Regions from separate parts of the Homo sapiens genome. Here region 2 is linked to region 1. Evidence: promoter capture Hi-C in 16 types of primary human blood cells and fetal thymus (Javierre and others, 2016). All regions are on one chromosome and are shown on one strand. The core of a region is centred on a gene start or on the middle of the fragment in contact, and the rest is flanking DNA. Distances in the headings are between cores, read along the strand shown. Region 1 holds the start of NEIL2 (nei like DNA glycosylase 2). Region 2 overlaps BLK (BLK proto-oncogene, Src family tyrosine kinase).

The links. The method cuts DNA at HindIII sites, captures the fragments that hold promoters and counts their contacts. A CHiCAGO score of 5 or more calls a contact.
Region 2: a contact is called between a fragment that was not itself captured here and the fragment with the promoter of NEIL2 in region 1, in 1 of 17 cell types (M2 macrophages). The highest score is 5.6, in M2 macrophages.

What each region holds. Positions count from the first base shown.
Region 1 is chr8:11,765,027-11,772,644 of GRCh38, forward strand. It overlaps NEIL2 (nei like DNA glycosylase 2), which reads left to right and starts at 4,684. Exons shown (of 5, transcript NM_145043.4): 1 at 4,684-5,309; 2 at 6,420-6,559. The coding sequence starts at 6,422. It overlaps LOC124901888 (a long non-coding RNA gene), which reads right to left and starts at 6,424. Exons shown (of 2, transcript XR_007060824.1): 1 at 5,852-6,424; 2 at 3,776-5,382. RefSeq lists silencers at 4,495-4,904, 4,945-5,074 and an enhancer at 4,834-5,334. The HindIII fragment of the contact is 12,492 bases long and covers 1-5,268 here.
Region 2 is chr8:11,533,097-11,540,714 of GRCh38, forward strand. All of the region lies in intron 1 of BLK (BLK proto-oncogene, Src family tyrosine kinase), which reads left to right. Among named protein-coding and RNA genes, the nearest start is that of BLK-AS1, 21 kb to the right of the region's middle. RefSeq lists enhancers at 4,525-4,754, 5,915-5,994 and a silencer at 5,068-5,232. The HindIII fragment of the contact is 3,186 bases long and covers 2,335-5,520 here.

The DNA of each region.
Region 1 (7,618 bases), core at 3,434-5,933:
GTGGTGACAGGCGCCTGTAATCCCAGCTACTCGGGAGGCCGAGGCAGGAGAATTGTTTGAACCCAGGAGGCGGAGGTTGCAGTGAGCCAAGATCATGCCATTGCACTCCAACCTGGGCAACAGTGCGAGACTCTGTCTCAAAAAAAAAAAAAAAATTGGTGTCTCGAGTCTCAAATAGAAAGCAGTGTCTTCATTGTGACCCAGTTAATGAGGTTTAAAAAAATGATTCCAGAATCATACATCCAAAGAGCATTGTTCCTCAAAGTAGCCTTGGAAACTGAATTTCTCCCAGAAGACAAGCTGCTAATGACTGGGAAGTTAGCACCCCTAAGTTTCCAACAGCTGGCCGGAGAGACTGAATGGAACAAAGAAAACTGAACCCTGCTAAGGAAAGGAAGCCCAGATTGAGGTACCATGCCTGACTCATTTACAAATCATGTCGGGTCTCCAGACCATCTGGTTGAAATCCTTTTGTCTCTTAGTCAAGGGAACTTGCCCAAAGCCACAGAGCTGGTGTGAGGAAGAGCAACATTCACTGACCGCCCACCCTCACTAGGAGGGCCATGGGACCGACCCAGGGTACTGCCCTTGCAGTTAATGCGCCTACCATGCGGGGGCGCACGTGTTCTCCCTTTCAGCTTCCATTACAGCCTGAGTTTTCCAGCGGTCAATCCCTCAGCAGCCCCGAAATTCTGCCAACAAAAATCACTTGCTGCTAATCGAACATGACTGCATGTCAAACGCTGCTAGCAGCTTTCTATAGCCGCAGGAAACACTTCCATATCCCCCCACTCACGTTTTGCACATAAAAAAGATATGGCCTACGGATTTTTAGTCACTTGTTGAAGGTCACAGAGCTAGTAAGTGGAAATCAGGGTTCAAACAACATCTATTTCACTCCAGAATCTGGGCTTTTACACCCCACTCTTGTGTCTCCTAAACAGTGGAAATCTACAAAATGGGAAGCCCTGCGCAGTCTGGGTTTAGACGGCAGTCCAAGAGGAAGAGTCTTTCAGTGTCTTTCTAGGAGTTGAGGAGAATCCTTGGTTCCAAATTCTCCCAACTTATAAGTAATGAAAGAAAGACCTAGAGACATTGGGGAATAGGGCTTACTGTTCATGGCCACATACCCCCAAAAAGGGACAACTGGAAGAGCCTGCGGAACCTCACTCAGCCCCTGCTCCTGAGGTGCCCGTAGAGCCACATGGACCCTCACCGTGTGCTTCAGAATCCCCAAACTCTCAGCAGCAACTCAATCCGTTACAGGATCCTAGTATTTTTCTCTTTCACTCCCTTCCTCGCATTCTTTGGGGTGGCTGTATTTTAATCTATTTTCATGTGCATTACAACTCTAGCTCTGTTGGAAAAAAAACAGGGGCACAAAGGAAGGGGGAGCAATTGATTCTGCGCCTCCTAGAAAGCTGGGCGCCCATCCTTTTGGAGCTGAGGCCCACTCCAGTGGGCTTGGGGGTTGCCCCAATCCAGGAGGCAGACAAATATTACTACTACTACTACTAATAATAATAATACAAATAATATTTTCTAAAACGTTTAGTGATGCTATACACCAGATCCAGTGCTGGAGACCCAGTGCAGTCACCAGACCCAATGCAGTGATGGAACTGAATCCTTTCAAGAAATCCCACAGAGGCCGGGTGCAGTGGCTCAGGCCTGTAATCCCAGCACTTTGGGAGCCCGAGGAGGGGGCAGATCACCTGAGGTCAGGAGTTCGAGACCAGCCTGGCCAACATGGTGAAACCCTGTCTCTACTAAAAATACAAGAATTAGCAGGGTGTGGTGGGAGGCGCCTGTAATCCCAGCTACTCGGGAGGCAGAGGCAGGAGAATCACTTGAACCTAGGAGATGGAGGTTGCAGTGAGCCGAGATCGCACCACTGTGCTCCGGCCTGGGTGACAGAGCGAGACTGTCAAAAAAAAAGAAAAGAAAGAAGAGAGAGAAGGAAGAAAAGAAGGAAGGAAGGGTGGGAGGGAGGGAGGGAGGGAGGAAGGAAGGAAGGAAGGAAGGAAAGAAAGAAAGAAAGAAAGAAAGAAAGAAAGAAAGAAAGAAAAAGAGAAAGAGAAAGAAAGAAAGAAAATAAATCAGTAAGGTCATAATTTACAGATGAAGAAACTGAGATGCAGAAAGAGTGAGTTACTTGCCCAGGCTCTCCCAGCTGAGTGGTGGGATGTGGACCCAGGCAGCCTGGTATGGGAGCAGGTTTCTAGCCACTCCTCTGTGGAGTCACTATTCTAGGCTGGCCTTTTCCAGGCAGATTATTCAGCCTTTTTGTCTTAGAATGATGATTGCATATGCTTGCATAGCACTTGCATATACTTACAGTTTATGTGTGTTTCTTAGCTAGTATCTCATTTAATCATTCACATAACATGGATGAATTGAATCATTCACTCAATTTGTTGAGTGTCTACCAACTGCCAATAGCTGATGCTCTAAATTCTTGCTGCTCAAAATGTAGCCCCTAGGGCCGGGCGCGGTGGCTCAAACCTGTAATCCCAGCACTTTGGGAGGCCAAGGAGGGAGGATCACCTAGGTTAGGAGTTCGAGACCAGCCTGGCCAACATGGAGAAACCCTGTCTCTACTAAAAATACAAAAATTAGCTGGGCATGCTTGTGCGTGCCTGTAATCCCAGGTACTTGGGAGGCTGAGGCGGGAGAATCCCTTGAACCCAGGAGGCAGAGGTTGCAGTTAGCTGGGATCGTGCCTGGGTTGCACTCCAGCCTGGGCAACAAGAGTGAAACTATGTCACGGAAAACAAAACAAAACAAAAATGTGGCCCCTAGACCACAGCATCAGCGTCACCCAGCAGCTTGCTGGAAAGGCAACATCTTGGGCCCTGGTATAGACCTTAGAATCTGCATTTAAACAAGGTTCCCAGGGGATTCATAGGTACATTGAAGTTTGAGAAGCGTGGCTTTGTGATATTTCTATAATACCATTTAATAGATATCCCATTTAATGAATGAAGTCAGAGATACTGTGACTTGCTTGTATCCCCACAACTAATAATGAAGCAATATATGCAAAGAGCTCACAACAGTGTTTTGCACATAGTACGCGCTCAATAAACAATAACAATCAATGACAGAGCCAAGCTGTGAACCATGAGATTTTCAATTGCATAGCCCCTTAGCCTCAGAAGAACCCCTTTAGGCACCAGGCATTCATTCCACCAGGTAAGGCGAGGACTGTGGCTACGGCTTCCCTCCCGGCTCAGCCACTCTACAGAAAGAGAAACTAGGGGGCCCAGAAGCTACCATTGTGGTGAGCCTGATCCTATAGCAGGGGCATCCTGGGGGTGGGGGGGTCGTTATTCTCCAGAAAAGGCCGGACATAGAAAGAGGGGGACCAGAGGCTCTTCAAGGGATGCCTCCTGCAAACCCCATGCCCTCCAACCTCATCCCCTCTGCCTCCAGATGCCTTTCTAGATGAGGACCCTATACCCTAGGCCTCCCCAGGCCTCCCTCTCCTCACCTCCTGCCCTAGCCTGTTCAGTAGGTGACCACTGTGGGAAGGCCACTTGTAACCTCCCTCTCAATCAGTAGGACACAACCATGTCTCTGACGGTGGGCTGGGCTTGTTTCCCTGTGCTGACCAAGTCCTTCCCCAGGGACCCCTCAGCTAGGGTCCATGGTGACTTCACCCCAGCCTATTTCCTGAACACCTGCTGGGGAGTTCCCCAGACTTTCCTCCCAACTTCCTGGAAAGTGCTGGCTCCCCATCCTCCTTCGAGAACTAAAGACAAGAAAACATATGTATCTTTAAACAGCCTATTGTTTTATCTCTTTTATTCTATGAAATAAAAAATTTAATACACAAATACTTTAAGCAAAATTTGCTTATAGTAAAAATTCAAGTAATAAAATTCAAATAATAGAAAGCAAAAAAATCCCACCCGTTCAACATTTCACGAGTCTTGAACACCTGTTTCCTTTGCACCCGACTTCATTAGGCTCGGAGGCCAAGCAGAACCCACAGAAAGGCTTGCCATTGTGGGAACACCCAGGCTGTCCCATTCACACACCCATTGACTTTTCCCTATAACTGTCTCCTTGAGACAAGAAATGTTCCAAAAGGGCCGGGTGCGGTGGCTCACGCCTGTAATCCCACCACTTTGGGAGGCCGAGGAGGGCGGCTCACCTGAGATCAGGAGTTCAAGACCAGCCTGGCCAACATGGTGAAACCCGGTCTCTACTAAAAATACAAAAATTAGCCGGGCGCCAGTAATCCCAGCTACTCGGGAGGCTGAGGCAGGAGAATGGCTTAAGCCCAGGAGGCGGAGGTTGCAGTGAGCCGAGATCGCGCCACTGCACTCCAGCCTGGGTGACACAGCGAGACTATCTCCCCCCGCAAAAAAAAAAAGTTTCCAAGAGCGTCTCTCCAATGTTAGTCCCAGCCTGCACCCTTCTTCCATCCCTGCTTTCACTCGCGACCCTCTAATGCAGCCCTGCCTCCAGCGACCCCCGGGATGGAACCCCTCGCCCACCCACAAAAGAGCAGCCTCGACCTAGACCCACTTTCCAGGGAATGAGCCCTGCGCCTGCGCGCACCCCGCCACCCCCTCCAGGCCGGAGTCCACGCCCACTTGGGGGAGGAGCCCCGCAGCCTCCACCTACAGGGGCGTCCCCTAAGGGGACGGAGGCCGCATGGGCCGCCGAGCCGGGAAATCTCCGCCCCCAGCTGGAGCGGCTGTGCGGGCTGCGTAGCGGTGCTGGGTCGGGCCGACGTGCCACCCACCCGGAGCCGGTGAGTGCAGCCGCCCGCCCTCCGGTAGATCTGCGGCCTGGCGGAGAAGTCGGGAGGGGACAGGAAGGGAGGGCGGGCCCCGGGCCCTCCTCCGTCTCAGCCGCCTGCGGAGGTGCTGCCCACGCCTGGAGGCCCCCACTGACCCTCAGACCCGCGTCTGCGCCCCTCTCCCCGCACCCCGAGGCAGAGTTGGGAAAGCAGTGGTCTTAGACCCCCCACCTCGGGCACTCGGAAGAGAACGGCGGAGACAACCCCTCCTCTTCCCTGGCTGGCGCAGCGCCAGCCTCGAGCTCCTCGGTAGCCCCCGGGCAGGGAGGGCCGGAGGGTGGGCGCGGCATCTTCAGCGACTCTTCGAAGTCCCTTCCGCGTCTCATCTTTCAAGGCTGTTGCAGAGGCGGCTTGCTTCCCACCTGTCCATCTCCATAAAAATCCCTAAACGAAACATGCCCACGTGTCCGGAGATTTTCAGGACTTGGTGCATTTCAGATGAAGGCTTTTCCAGAAGCTTCCCCGTAGAAGAGGATCAGGCATCCAACTGGTTAAGGTCAGCAGCGTTTGGCACGTCTCCTTCCAGCCTGGCGGTTTTGTCAGGATTCCCTGGGGAGTGTCTGGAAAGCCTGATGAGGGGAAATAGTACATCTCAGCGAATCGGCACCAGCGAGTGTAAGATGCGCGTTATTGAATGTGCTGCTGCCGAATATGAGAATGCCGAGATTGTGAGCCGTCACCATTTCTTAGATTTTAAAAGTATTCTAAAATGTTTTTTAGAATCACTGAAATATAATAGCTACCCCCTGCCCGATATCTACTTAGTTCTTTTCGATTTTCATCATAACTTATAGAGAGGCTGGTGCAGGAACAGGTGGTTAGGCAGCTGCCCCGGGTGAGGCTGGGAGTCTCCTCTGCCCGAACAGCCCGGGTGTACACCACTCAGACTGCCTCATGTAGGCGGCTGTCAGTGGACTGGGATGATTTGGGGGCAGGGAGAGTAGAGGTGGCCCTGGGAGCCCTGCGTGGTGATTAGAACAGAACCACAGCTGTTTCTCGGGGATCAGAGATAACTGTCTGTAGCTATGCCGGGCTTACCTACGTGGCTGGGGGTCTCACTTATGATTCTGAGCTCTGTCTGCGTGTTGGTCGTTTCATGCACACCTCCCCCACGCTAGTGGTCGGCGGTCCTGGAGGGCGGCATCTGGTCCCTTCAAAAGTGGGAAATAAGTCGGCAGCAGTGGGTCAGAATGGCTGTTTTTTGAGAGCGGGAGCAGGGGGACAGAGAAAGTCAGGAGGTGTTAGAGGTTCACAGTCCAGGCAAAAAGTAACAAAGGCCAGCTCCTGGTGTGGCAGGTGCCGCTCAGGAATAAAGTGGATGGTGCCCATGATGTGCTGCCTAGCACACTGTTGGTGCTTAATAAGTGTTTGCTGCATGAAGAAAGGTAAGAGGGGCTGCCTTTCCTGCTACGTTTCCCACACCCTGCCACAGCTGCTCTTCTCTATGATCTGACCGCCTCCCAGCCACACTCCCTTTTTGGCCATGCTTGCTCTTAAAGTTAGTTGGCAGCAAAAATGGCGGCATGGAGGATGCTTGGCACCTGTTAAAGATGCTAGAGATAAATGAGCTAAGTCGGTGGCCTCTTTTGCCCATTTCTGCCCACAGGGATGCCAGAAGGGCCGTTGGTGAGGAAATTTCACCATTTGGTCTCCCCCTTTGTGGGTCAGCAGGTGGTCAAGACAGGGGGCAGCAGTAAGAAGCTACAGCCCGCCAGCCTGCAGTCTCTGTGGCTCCAGGACACCCAGGTGAGGTAATACTCCTCTGAAGGGTTGGCTCTGTCGCCCATCCTGCGCCTCCCCTAGGATCTATCCCCATATGTCTCAGGGTGTCACTTCCCTGAGTCCGGAACCACCAAGCTCGGACTCCATGCAGCTCCCTCTTTCAGTCTCACGTGTCTCAGCCAGAAGTAGATATCGCTGTGGACTGTAGAACTGTAAAGAACACGTGTGGATGAGCTGGAGACCCCGATTCAGAGGGTCTGGAGTGCTCCTATTCTCTCCGGCCGCAGCTGATGGGCACCTTTGGCTGGGAACTGTGTTCTATTCCCCTGAGCCAGTGGAGAATTAAGGACAGAGCAGAACCGGCTGGGCACGGTGGCTCGCACCTGTAATCCCAGCACTTTGGGAGGCCGAGGCGGGTGGATCACTAGGTCAGGAGTTCAAGACCAGCCTGGCTAACATGATGAAACCCCGTCTCTACTAAAAATGCAAAAATTGGCTGGGTGTGGTGGTGGGCGCCTGTAATCCCAGCTGCTCGGGAAGCTGAGGCAGGAGAATTGCTTGAACCCGGGAGGCCGAGATTGCAGTGAGATGAGATTGTGCTACTGCACTCCAGCCTGGGTGACAGAGTGAGACTCCGTCTCAAAAAAAAGAAAAGAAAAGAGCAGAACCTTCAGATCTAGGTTCAAACCAGCTCATCCTTCCAGGGGCTCACGGAGCTCCCTGTTTTCTCACCACTGCCTCCCTCTCTAGCCTTCTTATCCTGCCCCAAACCTGTCTTCTGATCGATGAAACTGCCTTTGGCTCTTCTTAGTGTTTCTGTCCGTGGTTTTCACTTGCTGCCCCCTGCTCAAGCACTTCTTCCTTTTTCTCCCAACTCTGCCCCTGTTCCCTCAATTTATAATGGTAATTCCTGGTCTTCCAGCTTCCACTTGGCCATTGCATCCTCAGAGAAGCCTGCCCTGTCTGCTTTAGGTGGGAAGGAGACTCCATCTCTGTGCTTCCAGGACATCATGTACTTCCTCCTGTTCTTCCCTTTTTACTGAGTTGTTCTGCTTGTTGAGGGGAGAGGACAGATGCAGAGGG
Region 2 (7,618 bases), core at 2,678-5,177, 230 kb before region 1:
TTCATGTTTTATGTGATAGGCAAATCCTGCAACCGTTTTATGAGTTAATTTTAAATCTCTGCCTCTCTAGCAGGACATCTGTGTCTCTAGATCCACTCAGTAATTACAATCAACCCAAGCATGTTAAAGGCCTGAGACCTTTTCTTTTCTTTTTCTTTCTTTAACATTTTCCAATCTCATGTTTGAAAGCATAAAAGAGAACCTTTCAGTCTAAATGTTCTCCTGCACCCTCAAACCCGATGGAGGTGCTTCTCACTGCACGCTCCCTTCTTACACATTCCACCTCTGGGTTCTGCCAAGGAAACATTGGAGAAACAGCTCCAAAGGATTGAATGATGTCCAGGGCCTTTTAAGAGAGGTTCAAGTCGTGACCAGATGTGTATCTGGGTAAGATACGTGTGAACCTCCGTGGGAAAGACCAAGGGTTTGAAGTCAGAGATGTGGCTCAAATCTCTCTTCTGTGCTTCAGTTTCTTCCCTGTCTGCCGGAGGAGGAGGAGGAGGAGGAGAAGGAGGAGGAGAGGAGTAGGAGGAGGGGGAAGGGGAGGTGGAGGAGACGGAGGGGGAGAGGGAGGGAGATGGGGAGGGGGAGGATCTATCTAGTTTACAGGGTCCTCATGAGGCTCATGTGGGAAAATGCTTTGCAGGCTGGAAAGTACCACAGAGGTGTGAGTTATTATAAAAAGGGAAGTTATTTCCCTCTGTCAAAAAGCTATGCAGAAATATACTAATATGTAAGAAATGTTTGTATGGAGGACAGAAATAATTCATTTCATGGAGAGACAAGAGGATCACTGGCAGTAAAACTGCAGGCATTATTTATGGGAGACTCAAAGGAGGGAATGCCCCGTGTTGGCGGGCCTGCCTTTCAATCCTTGTCACAAGTCATGATCCAGAAGCTCGGCCAATTGAAGAAAGGGTCTCCATGAAGTGGAGCTCATGACCTGCCTGCATCAGCATCACTGGGGGCATTTTTTAAAAATGCAGATACCAGCACTGCTGGGGCTGGGGTTGGGAGTCTGCAAACTCCCCTGCTGGTTAAAATACAAACTGAGGTTTCAGAACTATTGTGCCAAAGAATCATAACTGACTCCATTGGGAAGTAATGACCCATGATTTGATTTCTCATTTAATTTTTCAAAATGCAAACAATGCAAAAAGTTAAAAATTGAAAAATAGGTTAAGGCCCATAGTCTCATCAATACAAGACACAACTGTAGTTGGATTAACATTTTGGCATATTGCTAACATATTTTAATAATCACTACTGTGAGAGTTTTTTAAAACATAAATTTACATGGTGTTCCCCCCCCAAAAAAATTCACTCACATAAAGGAATTTTATCCGTCCCCAGAATTACCTAATGAATTTCAAGCTTCTCTGTTAGCAGAATCAAATGTAGGTGACTCGATAAACAAGTGTCTGTCTTTGACTTAACACAGCTTTATAAAAATGCCTTCTTCCTTCCTTCCTGAAGGTCTGCTCAGCACCCTCAAACTTTTTACCACCTGAAAATCTTTTCTATCAATTTTACCACAATGGGGGGAGGTGAATTTCCACAAAAGATCTTTTCACTTTAAAAAATTGAAATGGCCACATAATTTCTCCTCCTAACTGTGCCGAAGTACCTAAAAGTCACAGGTTGGCATTGCTAGGTCAGCCTTTTGCAGGGGCCACACGTGCCCAAGGCCCTTACACACCCAGCCAGGTGTTACAGAGCAGCCTCTCACCATCAGGCTCTGTGCTAGTGCTGGGAAAAGATTCTGCTGGCATTTAAAAGTATTGCACAAGGAGGCCAGATGCAGCGGCTCATGCCTGTATCCAACCCAGAACTTTGGGAGGCTGAAGTGGGAGGATTGCTTGAGTCCAGGCATTCAAGACCAGCCTGGGCAACATGATGAAATCCCACCTCTACATAAAATTGTTTAAAAAATTAGCCAGGCATGGCAGCACGTGCCTGTGGTCCTAGCTACTCGGGAGGTTGAGGTGGGAGGATCACTTGAGCCCAGGAGTTCAAGGCTGCAGTGAGCCATGATCACGCCTCTGCACTCCAGTCTGGGTGACAAGAGACAGACAGATGAATGAAAGAAAGAAAGAAAGAAGGAAAGAAAGAAAGAAAGAGAGAGAAAGAAAGAAAAAGAAAAGAAGGAAAGGAAAGAAAGAAAGAAGAAAGAAAGAAAGAAAGAAAGAAAGAAAGAAAGAAAGAAAGAAAGAAAGAAAGAAAGAAAGAGAAGGAAAAGGGAAGGGAAGGAAGGAAAGGAAAGGAAGGGATATATTGCACAAAGCATTAGCTGTGAATGACTGTAGCACACACTCTACAATCCAGCAATGGAAAAGCTTTGTTTTCTGAACGTGTTTTCTATCTTCATGTGTTTGGAAAAACACCTATTTCTGAAATACTACCCAACCCTGTTGGGAGTGTGCCTGGTATTTTTTTCTAGTGTTCCCAGTTTCTCATCCTTTGCTCTTTCAACTCCCAACTAACAAGTGTGGAAGGACTGATGGAATCAGAGCACGCCCATTTTGTAACCACTAATGGGACTTTTAAATGTCGGTGAGGAACTTGTCAATGGAGGAATAGGGATGCCTGAGCCTCGACCTATCTTAGCATCACTAAAATGGTGCAGGTAAACACTGTGAGCCTCCTGGTAGGATGCAACATGGAGCACAGATCACCTCCTCGACAGCATCTCTACCAAGAGGGGCTGAGCTTGAATCTAATGGAGCCTACAGAGGTAACTCTATGTGTAAGAAGGACGAGAGGGAAGAGCAAGTGATGAACCATCACAAGGACGCAAAATCCAAAATGGAGAACATTCTATAGGACTGGCCTTTACAAATCAAAGGCTTGAAACTAACCAAAGTCAGAGCAGAAGGGACTCCTGTTTAAAGGAAACCTAAGACGTTGAGTTATATACGAACCTTGTTTGAATCCTGAGTAGGACAAACTAAGCAAGAAGCTATTTTTAAGTCAATTGTTAAAATGTGATTATGAATTGGGTTCAATGGCTGGATGGTTAGATGATACCATGGAAATATTGCTAGTTTTGTTAGATGTGATGAAGTAACATTGGGGTTATGTGAGCAAATGTCTCCATGCTTTAGAAACAAATGCAAAATATGGGGTGGTGAAATGACTTGCTTCACTACATTGATTTCATGTTGTTTCCAAGTTTCATTCATTTAGAGGAAATAAAACGATATGATGTAAAATACTGCAACCCAGAAAACAATTTTAAAGATAATTATTGAATGTGGGTGATGAGTGTAGAAGAGTTCTATTATTATTAATATTATTATTTTATTTATTTTTTTGAGACAGTCTCACTCTGTCAACTAGGCTGGAGTGCAGTGGCAGGATCTTGGCTCACTGCAACCTCCACCTCCTGGTTTCAAGCGATTCTCCCACCTCAACCTCCCAAGTAGCTGGGATTACAGGCATGCGCCTGGCTAATTTTTATAGGCACGTGCCTGGCTAATTTTTGTATTTGTGGTAGAGACGGGGTTTCACCATGTTGGCCAGGTTGGTCTCAAACCCCTGACCTCAAATGATCTCCCACCTCAACCTCGCAAGTGCTGGGATTACAGGCATGAACCACTGTGCCTGGCCAATATTCTTGACTTTAGTATATTTTGGAAGGTTTCATAAAAAATAGTTTTCATCTAAAAAAATCTGTTGTAGCCATCCTTCTCAGGTCTGGCTAGCGTTTTCTCCCAGGTGGAAGTAATTTCTTTTTGCTGAGCTCACAAAACACTTTACCCAGGCCTCTCTTTGGTACAGAATCATGCCCACTCTGAACTGATGGAATCGGGTGCATGCCTTTCCTCCTTATTTTCCTGTGAGAGTGGGCTCCATCCTTGTTTCATGCCTGTACCTTCCGCTATGCCTGACATAGTTCATGGTTGACAGCAACTGAATGTCTGTGGCTGAATGAATAGAAGAACCTCGTTGCTAGGAACTGTTATCGGGGCTGTTTCAGGTTCACATGTGGAGAGGTCAGTATTAGGGCAAAGGTGAGGAAGCCTCATTTCAGTGGTGTTGTCCTGAGTTGAGACATGAAACATGAATTTTAACTCAAATTCTTTGGCCCCTTCTTTAATTCAGAGCCATAGGCCAATCACCGTACTTTCTTCATTTACAAGATGAGTATAGCATTGGTGGTTTGTACTGGGAGAATTTGGAATTCTGGATGTTGGTGAGATGCTCCATATGGGATCTCATGCCGGCAGCTAGCATGGCATTGTGATCGCGACACCCAGGGTGAGTCCCAGCTTTGCCAGTAGGTACCCCTGTTCTACCTGGATGCTACCCACCTATGTCTGGCAGGTCAAATCAGAAAGGCAAAGCCTCCAGCACATAACATGGCAAGGCTTCCAGATACAAAATAGCAAAACTATTTTGCCACAGGGGAGATGATAGGGAATCTGAACTGTCCCCTCCAAGGGACACAGAGCCTCAGGCAGGGCCACAGGTGCACCTGTTTTGTGCAGAGGGCTCAAGCAGCCCTGGAGACAGTAACACCCTCCAGCTGCCAGCTCTGCCACCTTCAGCATGACCTTACCAAGCCACCTCGCCTCGCCTTCTTCAGTGGTAAAATGAGGATAACTGTAACCAATTTATCAAGGCTAACATGTATTAGAAAAAAAGAAAAACTCGTTATCCGTCAAGTGCTTTTCAACCATGTCATGCTAGCCAAGTGCAAATAAGGGGTTTCTAGTTTCTCTATTTTTAGTTGATGCCTCCACCACACCCCTTGTTTGACTGAAGCTGTGTTTCAGGCTTTGAGCATCTCCCAAAGCAAACATTGACTGCCCTGCTCTGGTGAAAGTCTGCATTAGAGGGCCTAGCTGGTTTCAAATAAACAAACAACTCCCCTTTCCCACTTCCCCTCCTCTTGCTGACTCCCCCGACTAGACACACATGCACACGGTGCACATGCATGCTCTCTCACACATGCATATACACGTGCACACATAGACACACACACACATATATACACACACATATTCAAGCACATACACACATGTGTATTCACACGCATGCTCTCGCTCTCACACACACACAAGTGCACATAAGTGTGTATGCTTCCTCTCCCACTCTCTCACAAACATACACAGACTCACACCCTTCCCACAATGCAGCAAAGCCATCTGGAGCCCCAGCCAGTGTGTGATGCGTTTTGCCTCTGTCTGGACTTCTGCACTTCCTGGCTTCACCCAACCTGAAACTGCTGGGTGCAGCCCGAGCACCAGTGACAGCCCTGGTTGTCCCATGGCCTCTTGAGGAACCCAGGTCTCCAGTCAAAGCCACTGGAGTAGGGGGACCCATAGAGACCTGAGGTACTCATGAGACCCATGGAAAATCATCTGCACACACACTGCTAAGGAGTCAAAGGACAGAAGTGTAAGTAGTGGGTCATTTAATCTTAGGAATTTTACTTTCTGTCCGGTTCTTTGTTCAATAAATTGAACAACCAATGTTCAATTATGTTGTCTCAGTGGACACAGGTGTTTGCCAGGAAGCTTAAAGTCAATGGCAATATGGCTGGCCAGACTAAGAAAGACAAGAGGGCTGGTCACCTGGGCAGATGCGGAAGTATGAGTCCAAGTCTGGGGAATATACTAGGAGCTGCTGACCACTGGCCCTTCGTTGAGTCAGGGAGGCTGAGAGAGGCCACGAAAGGCCTGAGGTTCAGGCAGCCCTGGCTGGCCACTTAACGGTCATTGTCAAGAACTGCAGGCTGGCCCTGGCTCCAGGCCTTATGCTCCTCTGTTGCTGGGCAAATCACTCAAATCCTCCTTTTATTTTTCTGCTTGTATCAATAATATATGCTTAGTATTAAAGAATTTAAGAAATATATACAATTAAAAGAAAGAAAGTCAAAGTCACATGAAGTCTTATAATCCAAAATCCATTTAGAAAATACTTTGGTGGGACCTGCTTTGCATTAGCACACACACCGTTTTTTAAGTCCGCTGGTTTTTTTTTTGTTTTGTTTTGCCTTACACCACACCTCTGTTTTGTACTCTCCCTTCCTCTAACAATAACCACAGTAAACAACTTGGTGTTCATCCTCCCCAGCCTCTTTCTGTGTAATATGCAAACATATCTACACGCCTGAATAGAGGTTTCTTTTCATTTGGTGTTTGCAAATATGGGATTCCCTCATGCACCTCTTTGGGTCTTACTTTTCTCGTGTAACAACATGGTACCGAAATTCCTCTTGACCTCACTGGTGAAGATCCAGCACATTTTTTTTAGTAGTTGTATGAGAGATTTATAGAGTGTAGATTTATTCAACAAGTCTTCAATTGCTGGGCAGTTACATTGTTGTTTTCTGTTTGGGATTTTTTTTCGGGGGAGGGGATTGTTTTTCCAACTATTACTACAACAAACATTTTCATCTCTCACATGTGTCTATATAATGATGTTTTATTAACCTGAGATAGTCCAGAGTGGGACTGAAAATCAAAAGGTATGTGTGCTTTTTTATTTTAACAGAATTTAAAAGATTGCCCTTTAAAAGAATTTAAAAGATTGCTTCTTCCAATAATATTTCATGTTTTGTCTAATAAATATTTATTAAGCCCACACTCTGTGCCAGACATTGGTTTAGCAATTTGGATTCAGCAATGAATAAAACAAAGATTCCAGCTCTCACAGAAGATTAATCCTAGAAATGGAGCGTGAAGGAACAAATGAAACAATAATTATAACAAACATTTTACTATTTGGGTTTGTGTTGCACTAACTTCCTATTTCTTATCTTTACACATTTTTCTATTGAATGAATTATATGCTGCAATATACTTCCTGTCAAAAGTTTATGAGCTTTGTATATATTATGAATACACATTTATCTGATGCTTTGCAATCTCTTACCCAATCTATTGCTTATCTACGAACTTCATGAGTAGTTTCTTATACCATCTAATATTTTTAATGTTTATGAATTTGTACTTTTTTTGTTCTCTCTTCGCTTCTGGGTATTTTATCTTTGTTAGTAGTTGTCTCCAAACTCTGGGTTATATACACAGTTTCTTACATTTCTTTTAATTACATTTTTGTTTTTTATTTTTTTCAGTCATACACCTAGAATTTATTTTTTAATATCATGTGAGGTAGGGGTTCAATTGTATTTTCCTTAAGGTAAATAGTCATTTTCCTAATACCATTTATTAAAATAAACTATCCACTTTCTACTGAATTAAAATGCTATCTTTTTCACATACGCGATTCCTGTATTTACCAAAATCTGTTTGTATGTTTTTTATTCTGCTCTGATGATTGTTGTCTACTTTTATTATTCCAATTTCATGCGGTTTTGATTACAATCTTCTATTTCATAATTATAAAGCTAGGTTAAGACTTAATTTAGTCATGTAAAGCTTCAGATGATTTTATGCAATTACAAATTATAATTTTAATTAAAAGAACATTCCATTTATATTAGGAACAAGAAAAACATCACAATCAAAAAAGAGAACAGAGTATAATAATTACAAGACAATGCTACATAAAACTATGGCAACAGATTGGAAAATGTAGATGAAATTAAAGATCTATAAACCATATAAATCATCAAAATGGCACAAAGAGGAGAAAAAATGGGAATAGA